Linked DNA regions of Homo sapiens: region 2 is linked to region 1. The links are contacts of gene promoters, found by promoter capture Hi-C in blood cells and fetal thymus (Javierre and others, 2016). All regions are on one chromosome and are shown on one strand. Each heading gives the region's core, a stretch centred on a gene start or on the middle of the fragment in contact. The rest is flanking DNA. Distances are from core to core; before and after follow the strand shown.

What was found. Contacts are between HindIII fragments. The CHiCAGO score rates a contact against its expected background, and 5 or more counts as called.
Region 2: a fragment that was not itself captured here is called in contact with the fragment with the promoter of ANKRD13C in region 1 in 3 of 17 cell types (total B cells, naive CD8 T cells and non-activated CD4 T cells); the score reaches 7.4 in total B cells.

What each region holds. Positions count from the first base shown.
Region 1 is chr1:70,352,247-70,357,354 of GRCh38, reverse strand. It overlaps ANKRD13C (ankyrin repeat domain 13C), which reads left to right and starts at 2,633. Exons shown (of 13, transcript NM_030816.5): 1 at 2,633-3,376. The coding sequence starts at 2,947. It overlaps ANKRD13C-DT (ANKRD13C divergent transcript), which reads right to left and starts at 2,544. Exons shown (of 4, transcript NR_168352.1): 1 at 2,147-2,544. RefSeq lists enhancers at 2,254-2,313, 2,414-2,473, 2,524-2,713, 2,744-2,803, 1,931-2,848 and 3 more. The HindIII fragment of the contact is 4,699 bases long and covers 1-3,093 here.
Region 2 is chr1:67,426,115-67,431,222 of GRCh38, reverse strand. It overlaps SERBP1 (SERPINE1 mRNA binding protein 1), which reads left to right and starts at 821. Exons shown (of 8, transcript NM_001018069.2): 1 at 821-1,235; 2 at 4,938-5,088. The coding sequence starts at 923. RefSeq lists enhancers at 170-349, 380-459, 670-939, 377-1,012, 1,648-2,284. The HindIII fragment of the contact is 686 bases long and covers 2,741-3,426 here.

The DNA.
Region 1 (5,108 bases), core at 1,384-3,883:
TGTTACCTAAGGATCACTTGCAAATATCTAAAATGTAGAACATCTAACTCCCTACAGATAAGCAACTTTCAACTCAATATGCTAAGATTGAACTCATTTTTAAAAACCTCTTAAACCTTTTTCTGCCTCACTCTTACTAACTTGGTTCATGCTCTCATCATCTGATTTACTGCATACTTCTTTAAAGTTCTGTTCTTGATGCATACTTCTCTAAAGTATGAGTGACTGAATTTTCTTTTTTTTAATTTTTTTTTTTTTTTGAGACCAAGTTTTGCTCTTGTCACCCAGGCTGGAGTGCAATTACACGATCTTGGCTCACTGCAACCTCCACCTCCCAGGTTCAACCGATTCTCCTGCCTCAGCCTCCCGAGTAGTTGGGACTACAGGCACCCACCATCATGCCCGGCTAATTTTTGTATTTTTAGTAGAGACAGGGTTTCACCATGTTGCCCAGGCTGGTTTGAACTCCTGACCTCAAGTGATCCACCCGCCTCAGCCTTCCAAAGTGCTGGGATTACAGGCATGAGCCACTGCGTTCGGCCTGAGTCACTGAATTTTCTATAAAGGTGATTGCATTATGCTATTCCCTGTTTAAAGATCTCTAAAAAGACTATTCCTTTTTTTTTTTGGACAGAGTCTCACTCTGTCCCCAGGCTGGAGTGCAGGGGCACAATCTCAGCTCACTGCAGCCCCCGCCTCCTGGGTTCAAGCGATTCTTCTGCCTCAGCCTCTCGAGTAGCTGCGAGTACGGGCACAAGCCACCACGCCCAGCTAATTTTTGTATTTTTAGTAAAGACAGGGTTTCACCATATTGGCCAGGCTGGTCTCGAACTCCTGACCTCGTGATCTGCCCGCCTCAGCCTCCCAAAGTGCTGGAATTACAGGCATAAGCCACCGCGCCCGGCCAAGTGTAAACTTTTAAGATGACATACAAAGCCCTGCATGACCTGGCCCTTCCTCTCTCTCTAGCCTTACTGTCAGATTTGACTGTACCACATTCTAGCATTGAAGTATTGGGCAAGTTTTTTTTAACTGTCAAGTGAGGATACTAATGCTAATCAGGGGGAGATAACAGCATATAAAGTGCCAAGCATACTGCCTGGCTTAGCGTTAACAATAAATATTGGCTATTGTGGAAGAAGCAAACATTATTGCATGTATTTTTTCAGTCTCTACTGCTGTCTCAAGAGGATGCTTTGAACTGTTGATTGGGTAATGTTTTAACATAAACGGAACTCTCCACTCCACCGAAAAAGAAAGAAGAGGAAGAAACAGATTTATCTGAACAGACTGAGAAGAAAATTGGAGGTGAAAAGTTGAGTGACTGGGGAGGATTAAGAGAGGCCCATCGAGTTGTTTGTTTGCGGAGATGAGTTAGCAGTAGTATAAACTTTAAGAAAGAAGAGATCTGGCCGGGCGCAGTGGCTCATGCCTGTAATCCCAGCACTTTGGGAGGCTGAGGCTGGCGGATCACTGAGGTCAGGGGTTCAAGACCAGCCTGGCCAACACGGTGAAACCCCGTCTCTACTAAAAATACAACAATTAGCTTGGTGTGGTGGCGCAGGCCTATAATCCCAGCTACTCTGGAGGCTGAGGCAGGAGAATCGCTTGGACCTGGGAGGTGGAGGTCGCAGTGAGCCGAGATTGCACCACTGCACTCTAGCCTGGACTACAGAGACTCTGTCAAAAAAACAAAAAAACAAAAAAAAGAGAGAGAGATCTGAAGTATTTGCTCTCAGAACATAGGGGGACTTTGGAGAGTTAAATGGGTGAAGATCTTTAGGATGTTTTGCTAAGCCCCCTCCTTACGTCCTCAGTGGCCAGCTTTAGTTACTTTGTTAAAGTTTTATGGTTGGCAGATTTACGTTTCTTCAGAGTTTGACACTAGGTTGAGGTTGGCCATGAACTAATACAATTATATTTCAGTTACACGATTCTTTGCCCTCCTTGAGTGTCCCCACCCTCATATATGTTAACTCTGACATCTGCCCGAAATTCATTCATCTAATAAATATTTGAGTGGCCTCCCCTCTTTCCGATTGCTGGACAGCCCATCATTTTCCAAAGTCAGCACCTAAACTCTTCTATGACTTTCCTGACAACTCAACACTAAAATTCGTCCCTCCCTTTTTTGTGTGCAACCCACCTCCCCGCCTCCGCTTTTAATTGTTTGGCCTTCATTCCTCTTCTACAGTGCTCCCTGCAATCAGTACTGGTGCTGTACATATTTGCTAGCTTCGTACATACGGCACGAAGTAGATGCTCAGTAAATGTTGGTTGACTGAGTATCCTCTGCATCTCGGTGACATCACATCCTGCGTGCCGTGGCGTCATTCTGCATTCCTCTGCGGGAGGCTCAGATCCGGAGGGTTTAAGTGGTTGTTTATAACATGCACCGAACATATCCAACGGAGGCTGTGGTTTCCGACCGCCCACAAAAAGCGCGGTTGGCGGGAGTGCGGGTTCGGGGTCGGCTGGCAGCTGGGAGACTCCAGCTCTGGGCGGAAACACACTGCCTCGGAGGCGCCGGCGCCTAGTGATTCTGGGAATAGAAGGTGCGAGGGAGGGAGCGGGTGGCTCACTTATCGCGGTGTTTTCTCTCTCTTCACTCCTGGGGGAGCTCTCGCGAGAGGAGCAAGAGGAAGATGGCCGTGCCCTGTTTTTCGGTGTAAGGCAGCGACGGCGGCTGCGACGGCGAGACTGAGATCCTGGTGTCGTGGGCACCTGAGTTCTAGCTTCCCCCAGCGAGCGCGCGTCCCTTCGTGCCTAGGCGAGAGCCGGCTCTTCCCCGGGAGATGCGTTTGTCCCAGGCTCGGGGGCTCAGTGGGAGTTCATGCTGCGCTGGAGGCTCTTGGCCACCGCTCTAATCGCCTTGTGCCGCCGCAGCGCCAGCTCCGTCGCCAGCGGTGAGCCTCCCGATTCCCCCCCTTGCCCCTGGCGGCGGCGATGACCGGGGAGAAGATCCGCTCACTGCGGAGGGACCACAAGCCCAGCAAAGAAGAAGGGGACCTGCTGGAGCCCGGGGATGAGGAAGCGGCGGCTGCCCTCGGCGGTACCTTTACCAGAAGCAGGATTGGCAAGGGCGGCAAAGCTTGTCATAAGATCTTCAGTAACCATCACCACCGGCTACAGCTGAAGGCAGCTCCGGCCTCCTCCAATCCCCCCGGCGCCCCGGCTCTGCCGCTGCACAATTCCTCCGTGACTGCCAACTCCCAGTCCCCGGCCCTTCTGGCCGGCACCAACCCCGTTGCTGTCGTCGCGGATGGAGGCAGTTGCCCCGCACACTACCCGGTGCACGAGTGCGTCTTCAAGGGGGATGTGAGGAGACTCTCCTCTCTCATCCGCACGCACAATATCGGGCAGAAAGATAATCACGGTGAGGAGTGCTAGCCCCTCTCCACCTCTCTCCTTCCCCGAGCCTAGGGTGTGCCTCCCCAGGCTTCTGGAATCCTAGGCCCCCTCCAGCAGACTCTTCTTTTTGCCCATCATCCGGGCCGTTCGGTAAATCATGATCGACTCAGTAATAGCGTGCCAGTGGTCAAGGGGTTGGTTCTTGTGGGTGCAAAGGAATGTATCCTCCTTGCCCACTTCAAAGTTTGTCGTGAGAAGCTGTTTTGTTTGAGACAGGCCTTCGATTTGCTGATTCTGGACTGTCAGAAATTTTAGGTTGCCTCCCACCCAACATGGTTTTCTCCCTTTGTTTATGGAGCTATATATCTTTATTTCTCTCTCTTCCCCCTACCTTGGCATTTTAAATTTTGAACGCATAAATTGCCCTCCTCCCTTCATTGCTCACATACAGATCCCATCTTGACTGCAACTGGTTGTGATTTTGCCTGCCACCAGGTTGTTTCTTTTTTGTCTGCTTTCAGTAAACTTAGAATGTTAGATTTCTGAAAGCCACACAGTAGAAATTTGTTGGTATTTGATACGTAGAACAGTTAAAGTGACTTCTCAACAGCCGATTTTTGTTTGAGTAGAGATTTGATTTTTTGCTTGTTTTAAGTAGATAATTGCTAATAGTAATGTCTCATCTTGATGACTGTGACTAAAAATAGTATTATGATTTTTATGGTAATTTTATCTTAGTCAATATTGACCATTTCTTTTTGCCTTGTCAGCTGAATTTTTTGTTTAATTCTAAAAAATAATGTGACTGAGTTGACTTTTAAGCAACAGTAAATTTATTATTGAAGACTAATGTGAACACTGACATTTTAACATTTAATAGCCGTTTTAAACTGGGTAGTTGGCAAATATTGTTGATCGCTCTGCTATTAATATGAAAATTGTATACATTCAGTTAGAACACACTGAACCAACTTTGTGCTCAAAATGATATACGTATCAATGAAATATTTGCCTGTGAAATAAGCTCACTTAATTCCATTGGATCGTAGGCTTTTTAGGACAAAAATTCAGATAAAAAAAACGAGTAAGATTTCTCTTGGCTGTATAATTATCTAACAACTGCATTTGTTTTCAGAATTTACAATGTTGTAATTGTAATAAAATCACCACCTATCATTTATCATAAATCCCCAAAAAAGTATGTTAAAGTTGCAGCCAGTTTTTCTTTCCTACATTTAAATTACTTAATCATTTTACTATTATAGTACAAGGATAATGTTGTTTGTTGATGATGGTAATTCTATGCTAGCCCTTTGGAAAACAGTTGTTAGTGGGAGATGGGTTGTAGCTTCAGTTTATTAGTCTATTATGAGGAAGTTTTTCAAATTTGGTTTACATAGTAGCCATAGTTACATTACCTTGAAATATCCCTGAAACAGATAAAAGGTTTGAGAGTTAACTCCCTTTGAAAGAAGAGATGGATGAATATCACTGAAGCTATTGAATTACAGGATTGTTGGGCTTCCATGTCTTCTTCAACCCAACATTTAGGAGTACATTTGTTTAAGTTCAAATTCTGTTCAAAGTAATTAGAATCCTGTATACTCTTAAACTCTTGTCCTTAGCCCACTGAAATTAACTTTTTTTTTTTTTTTTTTTTTTTTGAGACGGAGTCTTGCTCTGTCGCCCAGGCTGGAGTGCAGTGGTGCAATCTCCGCTCACTGCAAGCTCCGCCTCCCGGGTTCACGCCATTCTCC
Region 2 (5,108 bases), core at 1,834-4,333, 2.9 Mb after region 1:
CTTGCCGGACACGAACGGACGATTAATTGGAATAATTGTAACAGGGTTTCTATAAACAGTGCTTCCTGGAGGCTTGCCCCGCGTCTAGCGCTGCACCGTCAGGAGTTAACCACTCCTACGACACCCGCCGCCACACGGTGAGAAGCCCGGGAAAGACGCGCCACGCTCCCATGTGATAGTTTCACTTGTCTTTTTGGTTAGTTCTGCTACCCTAGTTCATGTCCCCGCGAGAGGAAACGTATTCCCCCTCACATTAGACAGAAGAGCCTCGATTCACCGTGGAGGCTGACGGAGGGCCACTCCAGCAACTGAGCAGCTCGGACTTGGCACAGGCAGGGTCCAGCCTACCCGCGGCCGGCGCGGCGCCTCAGCAACACCCCCTCCCCCGGAAGTTTGTGCGTCTCAGATGTAAGGTCTGGGAGTCACCTTGACCCCCCTGGAGCGGTGGGGAAAGTTAGCCCTGAGCCCGAGGGGGCGTGAGTGAAACCAAAGAGCACTTTCGCGAGTCAGTTACGCCGTCACGGTTTTTTGGTTTCAAGGTAGCTGAAGACCTAGAGAGTTTAAGGGTGGCCAGAGCAGGTGGCAGGACTCCGCCCACCACCACGCTTCCCTTCCTTCAGCCCGCACGCTTCACTCCCCTCATGGGGTCTCGCCTCTCAGGCGCGCGCGAAGAGTTGTCGCGCGGTGCGTCCTGGGAATTGTAGTCCCGACGCGGAGAGTCGCCTCAGGAGAAATGACTCTGGCCTACATACCCCACAGTGCCTTGCGGCGCAGGCCGCTCCCGGATGTGTGCCTGGCGCCGGAAGAGAAGACGGCCCCCCTCTCTCGGCCCGGCCATCTTGTGGGAAGAGCTGAAGCAGGCGCTCTTGGCTCGGCGCGGCCCGCTGCAATCCGTGGAGGAACGCGCCGCCGAGCCACCATCATGCCTGGGCACTTACAGGAAGGCTTCGGCTGCGTGGTCACCAACCGATTCGACCAGTTATTTGACGACGAATCGGACCCCTTCGAGGTGCTGAAGGCAGCAGAGAACAAGAAAAAAGAAGCCGGCGGGGGCGGCGTTGGGGGCCCTGGGGCCAAGAGCGCAGCTCAGGCCGCGGCCCAGACCAACTCCAACGCGGCAGGCAAACAGCTGCGCAAGGAGTCCCAGAAAGACCGCAAGAACCCGCTGCCCCCCAGCGTTGGCGTGGTTGACAAGAAAGAGGAGACGCAGCCGCCCGTGGCGCTTAAGAAAGAAGGTAAAGCAGGGGCAGAATGTGGGGGAGACTGGGATGGAGGGAAGGAGCGAGGGGGCTGCCGGCTGCCACTTGTTTCTGGAGCTCCGAGGGTCCGCGGGAGACTTTGCCGCCTATATCCTCACGTTTCTTCACGCGACAAAAGTCCGGTCCTGCGAAGGTGCCAGGAGCGTGGTAGCCCCAAGTTCAAGCCACCGCCGGCGAGGTTCTCGGAGCCATCCCCTTCCCGCCTCAGGTTGTGAGCAGAGGAGCGTGGTCGGAGATGAGCTGCTCCTCGAGCGCGCTCGAGGTCCTGGGAGGCTGTTGCCTTCCCGCCGGATTCCTTGGCGGGTGAGCGCATGGACTGAGGTGCGGGGAAGCCGGCCCCTCACCGAAGCTTTCCGTAGTTACGGAGGAGCTTGGGGGTCCATCGCTGCTTACTGCGCAGAGCTGCTCCTTTGAGGTGCTGTTGTTTCAGGCTCCTGTCCTGCCGTCTTGTCCCACGACGGCGCGGAGTATCCCCGCTGAAAAGCAGGGGGTCGTTCCAGGCCATCAGACGTGTGGAGTAAGCTGCAGGTTGGGGTGCCGCATGTCCTTTATTTGTTTCTCTTCCACCTCTCAACTGTTAGGACTTTCTCATAACTTGCTGGGGTGAGTTGAGCCGTTGGGAAATGGAGGAGTTTGGCCACACTCGATTAACCAGGAGCGGGAATTATGAATGAAGACTGGTGATTGCAGGACATCCCGAGGAACGTCCTCGAGTCACGATCCTCTCTCTCGACTCCCCAAACTGAATCTTTCACGTGGTGGGGTCTGGGCCTCGTGGGTGAAGTGAGTGCAGAGGCTGTCACAGCGTTAGTCGCAGCAGAGCTCTTTAGAGTTCGCAGTTTTTTTTTTCCACCACATGTGCGTGAAGCATGGTCAGAGTTTCACTGGCGGTTAATAGTTGTTTCTAGGGCACTGTGAGTTTCACAGGATTGTCTTGATTTTTGCATTCGCTTTACCAGTTTGTTGCGGATGAAAAAAAAGAGCAAGCAGTTTGGAGATAAGAACGTGCATGATCAATAGCAAGCAGGTGTTGGACCTAAGGTCTGAATCTTTAAAGCTGCATTTATATGTTGAAAGTTGAAATTACCCCTTCCTGCCACGTGCTTCTCTGAAAGGAGTTGTTTCTCTTTAGCTTTAGTTGAATTCTGTAACAGTGAACTAATTTTAAAAATCAAAACAATTTTCTCGTGGTAGGATTTGTTTTAGGAGGGTTTTTTTTTTTTTTTTTGAGGACTTTTGTGAGGCTCGGAATGAAGAACCTCGGTCCTAGGTGGTGAATAAAAGAAAATAATTAATTCTTGTGGTAAAATTATAGGTTGAGGAAAAATACAGTTGGAGTATTAGAAAGCATGTATATCACTTAGGCCAAGTATCTCTTCAGCCAGTTAAGCTTTATGGCAATCTAGCACAATTAAATAAATCATTTAATTCGTGTGTTAAGTAACGCTGACTTGTGTAATTATTTAAACTATGCTTAAGCTTAAGAAAGTACACGAAAAAGTTGAATCTGACGAATAATGTGTACCAGGTAGATGTGTTCACTCATTTTGAATGTTCAAAACATGAAGCATGGTTTAAATGCCTGAGTTATTTTGATCATGAAGCCCATCTATGAAATAAGCTCTTACCTGAAAAGTAGTATTTTAAGTTAACAAATGTGGGGAATGATTTCATGAAGTTAGAACCAAGACTTAGGTTCACCGTTCAATGAGTCTTTCCATGGGAAAACTATTCCATGTTAGCAATCAGCATTTTCCTTAGGTCAGTATTTCAGAGCACTACTGTTAAGTTGCATAAAATACAAGCATGTAAAATACAGGAAAAGTGTTGAATGGACAATACCCGTTTTGAGATTCTACTGTCCTGATTACTGGGAATAAATCTGTAAACAAAGTCGCTGCATGTAGTAGGAAGGTTAACCTGATTGTGTTCTGTGATTTTGATAACACATTGTGACATAATACTTGACATACTTTAGACAGATATTTAATGTTTATGTTTTATGAATTAATTTTGTACATTCTCTTGCCCATTTGAAGAACTTGAGAATTGACAGCAGAATGTCATTGAGAGTGTAGACCAGGGATTTTCTAAAAAAGAATGAATGCCTTGAAACTAGTGCAGTTAGTGAGCTTGCAAGTTATAGATAAGTATATCAAAAGAAGCTTGCATTTTTAAATGTCAGTCTTTTTCATTAGGTAGGTTTAATACGTTTTTAAGATTCTGTAAACTTGATATTGGGTGGGGACGCCAACTATTGTTCACTTGGGTGTGTTTGGCTTGGATATTATTGCAAGGACTGGTTCCATAACTCCACCCCAGTGCACTTTATTACTGATGACATTTATTTAAATACCTTGGTGTAAGGTCTAATATTTGTAGTCTATCTTGAGTATTTACAGGGAATGAACTTCAAAATTCTATTGAAGAGATTGATAGTTACTGTTTGGCTCCAGTTAACAGGCAGCAGAACAACTGGGTGTGTCTTGATGGTGTTCTACTTTCTTAGAAAGAACCAAAGTGAAGCAGCTTAAAATCTTGTAAAACCAATTCCTCAGCTGCTTTATGACTTTGTCAGAAATTGGGAATTAGAGCATACCAACAATCTTAAAGTCATTAATTTAACCATCAATCTGTTGATCCTTATGGGCACCAATAATTTAAATTGGTTGCCTTTGTGGGGTTTCAGACATTACAGGAAAAAAGTAGTAAAGGGGGAAATTAGTAAATGCTTCAGCTATCACTTAGTGTCACAAGTTTTCTTATTTCTTACATGTTGCTTAAAAGCGGTCTTAACGTGTGTGTATTTGGTTTTTAAAGATTCTTTGAAAATAAAGATAGTTGTTAGGGCAAATTTTTTAGAGGACTCTCTCCATGCATAATAAGTAACTGTTTCCTAACTTGGAAGTACTTAGGGATGTGGGAGTGTGTACAAACATATATACACTTACATGCTATAAAATTTTAAACTTTAATAGGGGAAGATGGCCCTTTTTGTGTGCCTGTAGCTAAGAAGACCAAAAGATGACACTTTTTCTGGTTAAATGGCTGTTTTAAACTGAAGTGATGTTCTCTAATAATCCTAAATGCCATATTTTCCTTTCAGATTTGTAATTTTATAGAATTATGAGTCTTAATTGCATTTTTTTTTCAGATTAGATAGAATAACATAGTGCGGCCCTCACTTTTGTGAGGGGCCATATCTAGTGAGTGTGTTGATTTGCTTGGTTATTTATGAATGGCTGCTGGTATTTTCTTTGGTATTTTAAAAGCCAAAATGTATTGCTTGCCTAAAATTTTTTAAATTTAAAAGTTTTTATTAAGAGACTATCTTGGAAAGTGACGGGAATAATGGTTGCCCAAATGATTTCCAAGTCAGTTATAGAAAATGCTTTTGAGGGGGAGAACTTGGCAAACTTAAATAGAAGTTTAAAATAAGTTTATTGTTTTTATTTTATTTATTTATGTATTTAGTCGGTGGTATGGATTGGAAGGTTTATTGTCTTTAAATGGCAGTTTTCCTAAGGTACTTTGTTACACATTAGAGTTGCCCAGTGTTTGCTTTTTTCCAACAGGAAATGGTAGTGGATTGGAAGAGAAGCAGCTTTTGACAGTCCAGGCCTAAAGTTTTTGGATTGCAAAAATAATTTGCTTATGCAGGTTATCTTATCGTTTTAGGAATAAGACGAGTTGGAAGAAGACCTGATCAACAACTTCAGGGTGAAGGGAAAATAATTGATAGAAGACCAGAAAGGCGACCACCTCGTGAACGAAGATTCGAAAAGCCACTTGAAGAAAAGGGTGAAGGAGGCGAATTTTCAGTTGATAGGTAAGTTGTTTCTTGTTTTT